2 separate regions of the Homo sapiens genome follow, and region 2 is linked to region 1. Evidence: promoter capture Hi-C in human tissues and cell types (Jung and others, 2019). All regions are on one chromosome and are shown on one strand. Each heading gives the region's core, a stretch centred on a gene start or on the middle of the fragment in contact. The rest is flanking DNA. Distances are from core to core; before and after follow the strand shown.

Evidence for each region. Contacts are between HindIII fragments. The study calls those that stand out against the background at their distance.
Region 2: a contact is called between a fragment that was not itself captured here and the fragment with the promoter of STYXL1 in region 1, in 1 of the 25 tissues and cell types used here (dorsolateral prefrontal cortex).

The regions. Positions count from the first base shown.
Region 1 is chr7:76,045,087-76,050,433 of GRCh38, forward strand. STYXL1 (serine/threonine/tyrosine interacting like 1) reads right to left here and starts at 2,914. Exons shown (of 9, transcript NM_001317785.2): 1 at 2,576-2,914. MDH2 (malate dehydrogenase 2) reads left to right here and starts at 3,020. Exons shown (of 9, transcript NM_005918.4): 1 at 3,020-3,140. The coding sequence starts at 3,075. RefSeq lists enhancers at 2,387-3,169, 2,615-2,704, 2,815-2,894, 3,170-3,951 and a silencer at 3,145-3,304. The HindIII fragment of the contact is 5,088 bases long and covers 588-5,347 here.
Region 2 is chr7:75,518,490-75,523,836 of GRCh38, forward strand. It overlaps the pseudogene PMS2P3. Among named protein-coding and RNA genes, the nearest start is that of SPDYE5, 29 kb to the left of the region's middle. The HindIII fragment of the contact is 4,690 bases long and covers 1-4,649 here.

The DNA.
Region 1 (5,347 bases), core at 1,664-4,163:
TCCTTTATTTTTCTCCTCTCCTTTGTATAACCCGACTTCCCTCTTTATGTATTTTCCACACCTCTTTCTTTCACTCCTCAAACCCAGATGAGCACAGACTGTTACCCATTCTTCCCATGAGACTTCTCCCACACTGGCCCTACCCACTCCATTTCTATGGCCACCACCGTAATTCAGACCTTTGTCATCCATAAAATAGATTCCTAAACAATCTCCCTGAATAGATTCCTAAACAATCTCCATTTTTTTTTTCCTGGGAATTCTTAGCATACAAGGTCAGTCTAATCTTCCTCAAACACAGTTCTGGCAGTGTCACAAAAGCCTGATTGGCCAGGTGCAGTGGCTCACGCCTATAATCCCAGCACTTTGAGAGGCTGACTCGGGCAGATCACTTGAGGTTAGGAGTTCTAGACCAGCCTGGCCAACATGACAAATCCCTGTCTCTGCTAAAAATACAAAAATTAGCCAGGTGTGGTGGTGCACACCTGTAATCCCAGCTACTTGGGAGGCTGAGGCAGGAGAACTGCGTGAACCCGGAGGTGGAGGTTGCAGTGAGCCGAGATCGCGCCACTGCACTGCAGCCTGGGCAACAGCGTGAGGCTCCATCTCAAATAAATAAACAACCTTTGATAAACACTTGCTTCCCAAGAAATGAAATACAAACTTCTCAGCTAACATTCATGGGACCGGCACAATCTAGTTTTTCCCAACCTGCTGTTTCCAGCTGTACCTAAAACCACTCAACTCTCCACAAATTCACTGAGGCCCTTTCAGCCCAGTCGCATGTTGGACAAAAAAAACAGAAGAAAGACTTAGTACCTGGCAAGACTTAATACCTGGCTCTGAGGTGCTCTCAGTTACAAGACAGAGGAGTAAATAATTACCAGAAGATGCAGTCAGTGATAAGATAAACAAAGGACACTGCTTGCCCTAATGTCCCCACTCCAAAATAAATGATCTATTCACTGTCCCCTGAATACTGGCCTATGCTTATTTTTTCCCGCTAGGATTTTATTTGGCCTTTTTTCTCCTCCTTTCCTGTCTAAACATTTCCCATTGTTAAATGCTCAGGCCCTAGTGCCCCTCCTTTGAGAATTCTGATTCCAAGGCAAGGGATCTTTCCCTCCTCTGGAGTTGAATGTTCCATTGAGAAACACCTACTCTTCCAGCATGTCTCAGCTTATCTGCTGTGTGTGTGTGTGTGTGTGTGTGTGTGTGTGTGTGTGTGTGTGTGTGTGTGTGTGTGTGTGTGTGCGCGCGCGCGCGCGCGCGCTTTTGAGCCGGAGTTTAGCTCTTATCACCCAGGATGGAGTACAATGGCACAATCTTGGCTCACAGCAACCTCCACCTCCTGGGTTCAAGGGATTCTCCTGCCTCAGCCTCCTGAGTAGCTGGGACTACAGGCACACGCCACCATGCCCAGCCAATTTTTGTATATTTAGTAGAGATGGGGTTTCGCCACATTAGCCAGTCTGGTCTCAAACTCCTGACCTCAGGTGATCTGCCCGCCTTGACCTCCCAAAGTGCTGGGATTACAGGCATAAGCCACCACACCCGGCTTTTTTTTTTTTTTTTTTTGAGACAGAGTCTTTCTCCGTCGCCCAAGCTGGAGTACAGTGGGGTTATCTCGGCTCACTGCAACCTCCCTCCACCTCCCGGGTTCAAGCGATTCTCCTGCCTCAGCCTCCGGAGTAGTTGGGGCTACAGGTGTACACCACCACGCTGGGCTAATTTTTGTATTTTTAGTAGAGATGGGGTTTCACCATGTTAGCCAGGCTGGTCATGAACTCCTGGCCTCAAGTGATCGGCCCGCCTCAGCCTCCCAGAGTGCTGGGATTACAGGCATGAGCCACCTTGCCTGGGGGTGTTGTTTAATTTTAAAAATATGTATCAGGCCGGGCGCGGTGGCTCACGCCTGTAATCTCAGCACTTTGGGAGGCCGAGGCGGGTGGATCACGAGGTCAGGAGTTCGAGACCAGCCTGACCAACGTGGTGAAACCCCGTCTCTACTAAAAAAAAAATACAAAAAATTAGCCAGGTGTAGTGGTGCGCTAATCCCAGCTACTCAGGAGAATGAGGCAGGAGAACCACTTGAACCTGACAGGCAGAGGTTGCAGTGAGCCAAGATCGCGCCACTGCACTCCAGCCTGGGCTAGAGAGACTCCGTCTCAAAAAAATAAATAAATTCATACATTTAAGTAATAAACTCATTGTGAGCAAGGAATTCTACTCGACTTTCTGTCTGCGTAAACTCTACAAATCCACTTGGCCTCAGCCACAGTGTCTTTATTCGTAAAGCAGAAACAGTGGGACCGTCAGAGCACTGCCGGGCAGGCGAGAGAAGACAGGAACTGTATGACCACGGAAGTTGTTGTCCCTACAACCTATTTGCTCATCTGGAACACAGAATAGTGGTCCTCTAAAGCTTGCAGGGCTGGAGGTCGCCATTATCAGCAGTGGTGTCACTAAACCTGAACCCAAGGGTCTCTGCAACTTGGGAAACGACGGCCCGGATCTGAGGAGATGGCCCCTTCCTCCCACCCCGCCTAAGGACTCTCAGCCTCCCTGACCCTACCTTTCCGGAGCTCAGAGTCCCCTCTGGCCTCCAAGGGCAGAAGGAATGGGTTTGGCTGAGGTCGGGGGCTCGGGTCTGGGACGCGCTCCACCTCCCCGGCTGCGCGACTATGGCCAGGCTCCCTGTCGGAGCCTCTGCCTGGGGCCCCACCTGGAAAAATGGCTCCTCTAAGGCGCTTCCAGCCTAAAGCCCGTCCTCTTCCACCTCTTGGGTGCAGACTGGCCCTCCCACTCCGACCGCAGGTCCCCCACCGGCCACACAGACGGCTACGCTAGAACCCAGCCAAACACCGGGGTTGCCAGGATGGTCCCACAGCTTTCCTTTCCGACTCCCGGAAGTGGCCGTGATCTCACGAGATCCCGGAGGCGAGCGCGACCGGAAGTCCGGTCACTCTCGCGAGGCCCCAGAGAGCAGGCGCTGGGCAGTGTGGAGGTCGTTGGAGTCACTTCCCCGTCACCAGCTCCTGTGCCTGCCAGTCGGTGCCCCTCCCGCTCCAGCCATGCTCTCCGCCCTCGCCCGGCCTGCCAGCGCTGCTCTCCGCCGCAGCTTCAGCACCTCGGCCCAGGTAGGCCAGACGAGGGGCGGCCTGCAGGCGGAGGCCCCCCGGCCCGGGCCACGTGCGTCCCCGGTTCGCGGGCAGCTCTGACCCTCTCCAGGCCAGCCTGGACCGCAGGGATGCCCGGCACTGGCTGGAGACTGTGGCGCCCGGGGCAGGCCCTGACACTGGCCTGGAGGTGCGGGGGAGAAAGCCGGGGAAAAGGGGGCGAGGTAGTCCCGCTCCAGGGCCGGTCCATTTGTCAGGGTTCCCCCAGGTCTCCCAGATTTCCCAGAGGACCTGCTCTTGGCTTGCACGCCTTCAAGGTTGGGAAACCAGGGCTCTGCATCTGAAAGTAAACTTACGTTTTTTTCTGCAGCGTTCCATTGCTTTGACGTAGCTAATCTCCTTGCAGCATCCGTGTGAGTTGTGCGTGAATAAAAGAAATCGTATACTTCCTAATTCCATAGTATGGACAAACCGAGGCTAGAGAACTGGGCCAGGGTTACAGTCATTTGGCCAGAGGATTAGAATTCAGCGCTTCTGACCTGAAGACGGCTTCCTCTTAACCTTTTTGGAGGATCTCTCCTGCTGTGGGCGGACTGAGCCTGCCGCCAGGTGTCTTAACAGTGCTTGACTTGGCCCGCGACCACTTAAGCCTAGGAGCCTAGGCTATTTTTAGCCATCTTCTAGAATGGTGGTTCTTAAACTCTGCAGTGTGTCAGAATCACCAGAAAGCTAATAAAAAACAGACGTCTGGGTTCATTGAAGAAGCTTAAGACTGCGGGGGGGGGGGGGGGGGTCCGCATTTTTACCAGGTGAATCTAATTAAACCTAATTTTGAGAACCCAGGAGGTGCTCGCATTGCCTTTTAATTACGACGCCCAAGAGGGAGGTAATTTTAAAGGGGAATCCAAATTTATCATCGAAGTTCTCGAGTTTCCTGTACATCCAGTTCATTTGAAAAATAAATACAAATGCTCCTGGATTGATGGCTACTTCCCATACCCATCGCAAGTTGGTAATATCCTAAGTCAAAAGGCGAGTTTAACTTTGTGTATTTTCAACTTGCAATGGGTTCCCACAGGCAACCCCATTGTAAGTTGAATGTACCAAATGCTTTTGCGCTGCGGTGAAGTGGGGGCCCAGCTGTATACAGATAAGTACATTAAGTACCTGTGCTTGCCAACAACTATGCTGGGTGCTGCAGGGGATACCAAGATAAGTGAGAAGTGACACTTGATATGGGACAGGAATGAGTAAACTTAGGACAGGTGGAAGCGATGAAGGTCTTAGGGAATGAGTAAACTTAGGACAGGTGGAGGCGATGAAGGTCTTAGGGAATGAGTAAACAGGACAGGAGGGATGAGGTGTGGGGGAGGGGCAGCCAACCAAAGAGAGGACAGGGGTGTCCAGGGAGAGGTTGAGTTTTGGTAGGACCTTCAGATATCCGACATATTTATTGAGCTAGGTACTGGAAATACAGCGGTGAACAAAACACAGAAGTCCCTGCTCTCACGGAAATTACTAGATATTTTACTTATTGCCCCACTCATTATAAAGTATCTTAAAATAGTGATGAACATGCAAGAAAAATGGGGATTGTAGGGTGCTTGTGTTAGGGAAGAGGGTACCAATTTTATTTACTTTTTTTGATGCAGTGCCTCGCCCTGTCGACAGGCTGGAGTGCAGTGGCGTGATCTCGGTTCACTGCAGCCTCCACCTCCCAGGTTGGAGCGATTCTCCTGCCTCAGCCTCCCGAATAGCTGGGACTACAGGCGCGCACCACCGTGCCCAGCTAATTTTTGTGTTTTTAGTAGAGATGGGGTTTCACCATGTTGGCCAGGATGGACCTGACAGAGTCCCACTCTGTTGCCCAGGATGGAGTGCAGTGGCGCCATCTTGGCTCACTGCAACCAACTCTTGGGCTCAAGCTATCCTCCTGCCTCATCCTCCCGAGTAGGTGGGAATCACAGGCAAGGGCTACGACAGCTGGGTAATTTTTGTAGTTTTAGTAGAGATGGGGTTTCACCATGTTGGCCAGGCTGGTCTCAAACTCCTGGCCTTAAGTGATCCACCCTCCTTGGCCTCCCAAAGTGCTGGGATTACAGGCGTGAGCCACCACTCCCAGCCGAGGGTAGCAGTTTTACATCAGCCAGGGTAGGCCTCACGCAGAGTGAGATGTTTGAGTAAAGTCTGAAGGAAGCAGAGATCACATCATATGGAAAGAGTATTGC
Region 2 (5,347 bases), core at 1,055-3,554, 530 kb before region 1:
CCGTCTCTACTAAAAATACAAAACATTAGCCGGGCATGGCGGCGGGTGCCTGTGGTCCCAGCTACTCGGGAAGCTGAGGCAGGAGAATGACGTGAACCCAGGAGGCGGAGTTTGCAGTAAGCTGAGATTGTGCCACTGCACTCCAGCCTGGGCGACAAGTGAGACGCCATCTCAAAAAAAAAAAAAAAAGTGCTCGGGCACGGTGGCTCACGCCTGTAATCCCAACACTTTGGGAGGCTGAGGCGGGCAGATCACCTGAGGTCAGGAGTTTAAGACCAGCCTGGTCAACATGGTGAAACCCCATCTCTACTAAAAATCCAAAAAAAAAAAATTAGTTGTATTATTAAGGTCAACGTAATAATACAAAGATATCAGTTACCCTAAATTACTTTATAAATATACAATCCCAATAAAAATACCAAAAAGCTTTTTCCTGGAACTAGATAAGCCGACACTACAGTTCATATGAGGTGGAAGAAAATCAAAAACAGCTCAGGGAAAAAAAATATTTGGACATGGATAAAACTGGACCCAGGCCAGGTGTGGTGGCTCATGCCTGTAATCCCAGCACTCTGGAAAGCTGAGCCAGAAGGACTGCTTGAGGCCAGGAGCTTGAGACCAGCCTTGGCAACATAGCAAGACCCTGTCTCTACAAAGAAAAAAATATATATATTAGAAAAAATAGAGAGAGAGAGACATGAGGACTTCTGCCCTCAGGTGTGATAAACTAACAGGTACTGCATATACCCTCCAACCTGAAACAGCACACACCAAAGAACAACAACAAAATCAAAAACAGAAAGAAAAATAAAATGGAGAACATATATGAAGCAATGGTTTGTTTGTTTTTGTTTTTGTTTTTTATGAGACAAAGTCTCACTCTTGTCTTCCAGGCTGGAGTGCGATGGCACAATCTTGGCTCACTGCAACCTCCGTCTCCCGAGTTCCAGCGATTCACCTGCCTCAGCCTCCCAAGTAGCTGGGATTACAAGCATGCACCAGCACGCCCGGCTAATTTTTGTATTTTTAGTAGAGACGGGGTTTCACCATGTTGGCCAGGCTGGTCTTGAACTCCTGACCTCATGATCCGCCTGCCTTGGCCTCCCAAAGTGCTGTGATTACAGGTATGAGCCACCACGCCTGGGCTGAAGCAATGGCTTTCAAGGCACTGATTATCAGGCAGTAGAGTTATCTATGAGTGATGGGAAATAAACAAGGTGAACCAATCAACTTCTGCCTTGAGTGACTCCAGGCCACGGAGCAGGGAAGAAGAACAGAGGCAGATGTGAGGAGAAAGAGCTGCGAGTCGGGAAAATGGGCAGGAAACTACAACCCATAAGGAAAACAATCAGTCCATCAAAACTGGCCCAGAATTGACACAGAGTTTACAACTGGCACAGAGCACTGAGAGAGTTCATCATTCTATTCCAAATGTTCAAAAAAATTGAGACAGGCAAGATGTGAAAAAGACCCATGCTAACCTTCTACAGATAGAAACTACAATATCTGAGATGAAAATTATACTGGACAAGATGAACAGCATCGTGGAAAAAAGAGATTAGTGAATATAAAGACAGCAACAGAAGTTACATAAAATGAAACAGAGAAAGAAGAATTAAAAGCAAATAAAGAGCAACAGTATGTTGTGGGAAAATTTCAAGTGGCCTAATATACAGGCAACAAGAATCAATGGAGGGGAGGTGGTGGGTACTTGAAGAAATAATGATAAAAATGTTCCCCAAGTGATGACACCATAAACCCAAGATCCAAGAAGTTCAATGATCCCCAAAACAGAAACATGAAAAAAAGATACCATGACATATTGCAATCAAATTGTCCAAAACTAGTGATAAAAAGTTTAAAACAATAAGGGGGGAAGAAAAAAAGACATGTTATATATAGGGGAACAAACATGAGTATGAGATCAGATTTCTCTTAGAAAAAAATGTAAGCAGGAAGACAACAGAGAAACATATTTAAAGCACTGTGGAGAAAAATCCAGCAAAAACACCTTTAAAAGCAAAGACACAATGAAGACATTTGCAGACCTACAAGAATTCATCATCAACTAGAAGAAATGTTAAAGAAAGTCCTTCAGGCAGAAGTAAAATGACAGAAAATAAAAATTTAGATTTACATAAAGGAATGAAGAGTACCAGAAATGGTAACTGTGTATTTTCTCTCATTACTTAAATCTCTTTAAAAGATACCTGGGCCAAGTGTGGTGGCTCACACCTGTAATCCCAGCACTTTGGGAGGCTGAGGCAGACAGGTCACCTGAGGTCAGGAGTTCGAAACCAGCCTGGCCAACATGGCGAAACCTCATCTCTACTAAAAATACAAAAATTAGCCGGGCGTGGTGGTAGGTGTCTGTAATCCCAGCTGAGGGAGGCTGAGGCAGGAGAATCACTTGAACCCAGGAGGTAGAGGTTGCAGTGAGCCGAGATCGCACCCCTGCACTCCAGCCTGGGGGACAGAGTGAGACTCTGTCTCTAAATAAATAAATAAATAAATAAACAAATAAAAGATAACTGTTTAATTAACAACAACGTAATAGATAGTGTGTGGCACTGATACCACCTGTAAAAATGAAATGAACAACGGTGTAAAGACCAAGAGGAGAGAAATGGAAGTGTCCTATTGTAAGCTTCTCTTACTCTAAGAAAAATGGTATATTACTTAAGAATAAACTATGATAATTAAGGCTGCATACTATAAATTCTAACTCACTAAAATAATAACAGTGTGATAGCCAAAAACCCAACAAAAGATATAAAGTAGAATCATAAAAAATTCTCAACTAATCAAAAGGAAGGAAGACAAACAGAGACATTTTAAAAAGAAACAAAGAAGATGAGACTAAAAGAAAGCAAAGACAGTGGACTATAACCTAACTCGTTTTATCAATAATCACATTACATGTAAACGGTTTATACATCCCCAATTATGAGACAGAAACAGACTGATGAAAACAAGCAAGATCCAAATCTTGCTGCCTACAAGAAATAATACTTTAGATATAAAGATGCAAATAGGTTAAAAGTAAAAGGATGGAATAAGATATAGCATGCATGCATTACTCAAAAGAATGCTTCATAAATAACAAAGTACATTTCACAGCCTGGAATATTAGCAGGGATAAGGAAGGCCATTTTACAAAGTGGTTAATTAATCAACAGGACGTAATAACCTTGAACATTTATGTATCTAATATAACACATAAAGCAAAAAGTGGTAAAATTGCAAAGAGAAACAGAACCACAACTGCAGCAGATTTCAATCCCCTCTCCCCCACAATTGATACAAGTGGGCACACAATCAACAAGGATATAGTACACCTGAACAACACAACCAACCAACTTGATCTCATTAACATTTATCAAACACTCCACCCAACCAGAGCAGAACAAGCCATCTTCTCAGGCATGCACAGAATTTTCCCAAGACAGATCCTATTATGAGCCATAAATTTAAGAGGTTCCATGTAGTATTCCAGACAAAAATTCAGTCTAAATCTAATCATGAAGAAAGATCAGGGAAACCTAAATTTAAAGACTTCTATAAAATCACTGGCCTGTATTCTTCAAATATTATAATGGCACTGAGGAACAAATCCATATTAAACAGACTTAAAAAGCATGAAAACTAAAGGCAATTAACAGTCCTAGACTGAATCTTCTACCAAAAATTAAAAATTGCTATAAGGGAAATTATTGGGAAATTGGCCAAACTGGAAAATGAACTACAGATAAAAGTATTAAATCAATGATAAATTTCCTGAATTCAATTACTGTGCTATGGATATTTAACAGAATGTTCTTGATTTTATGAGATATAATCTAAAACTTTATAGGGTAAAGAGGCATGACATACCCACTCTCAAATAGTTCAGAAAATATATATAGACACATATGTATATATGCATATAAATGATTAATGTGGGAAAATGTTAAGAATGAAGTGTCTGAACAAAAGGAAGTGTCTGGGATTTCTTTGTAAAATCCTTGCAATTTTTCTGAAAATTTGAAATGATTTCAAAATAAAATGCTAAATAGAAAATAATGCTATCAAATATATATTATATGTATACATTTGCTATCAAATATATCAAATATATTTCAAAAGGACTCAGAAACCAACTTAAAGGGATTCCGTCTGGCCAAAGATGGAACCACTTAATTTTCAAAAAGAATCACAACTTCTATGTACTGAAATATTTACTATCTGTTTAAACCCATGAGCTCATGATGGTAACAAAACAAAAAAACCTTCCTGCTTAGAAGCCTACTCAATATTATAGAAACTGTCTTTCCTGCATGAATTACATAAACAAATAAAGAATAGAAATTTATCTTTAGAAAAGTATTCTAGGCCAGCTGTGGTGGCTCATGCCTATTATCCCAACACTGGGAGGTCAAAGAAGAGGATCACTTGAGCCCAGTTCAAGACCAGCCTGGGCAACAAAGAGAAACCTGTCTCTACTAAAAATTAAAAAATCAGCTGGGCATTGTGGCATATGACTATACTCCCAGCTACTTGGGAGGCTGAAGTGGGAGGATCACTTGAGCACAGGAGTTTGAGGCTGCAGTGAGCCATAAATGCGCCAGCCTGGGCGACAGAGTGAGACTCTGTCTCCAAAAAGAGAAAAGAAAAGAAACGTATTTTGGCTAGTAAATAAAGAATAAATGGTAGAATTAGCAGATCACCATTTTGCCTCCCCTAATGAACTAGTAAATCACAGCAATAATCAACAGTCAATAGTTCTTAACTTCACAAAAACAAAGAAGGTAACACGTGCCTCCAGAAGTAGACAAATGCCACATATGGTATAGTTGTGTGAAAAGAACTGAACATAAACTTGATTAGACTTCTAGATCAAACTACCAATTTTACAAGGCATATGAGATATTTTTTAAAAATTTGCTAAAGGTGAAACAAGGGTAACACAATCCAAACTGAGGATAACCAACACAGTTTCTTCAAAACAATGAGCACGCAAGAGACATACTATGGGAACTATTAAAAGATTTAACGCAACTGCCACATGTATTAAGAGAGTATTATGGGTTATTCCTAGCCCCTTTAAAAAAATTCTTTATTGGCCACGTGTGGTGGCTTACACCTGTAATCCTAGCACTTTGGGAGGCCAAAGTGAAAGGATAACTTGAGGCCAGGAGTTTGAGACCAGCCTGAGCAATACAGTGAGAATACATCTCTAGGCCAGGAGCAGTGGCTCACGCCTGTAATCCTAGCACTTTGGGAGGCCGAGGCAGGCAGACTGCCTGAGCTCAGGAGTTCGACACCAGCCTGTGTGACACAGTGAAAGCCAGTCTCTACTAAAATACAA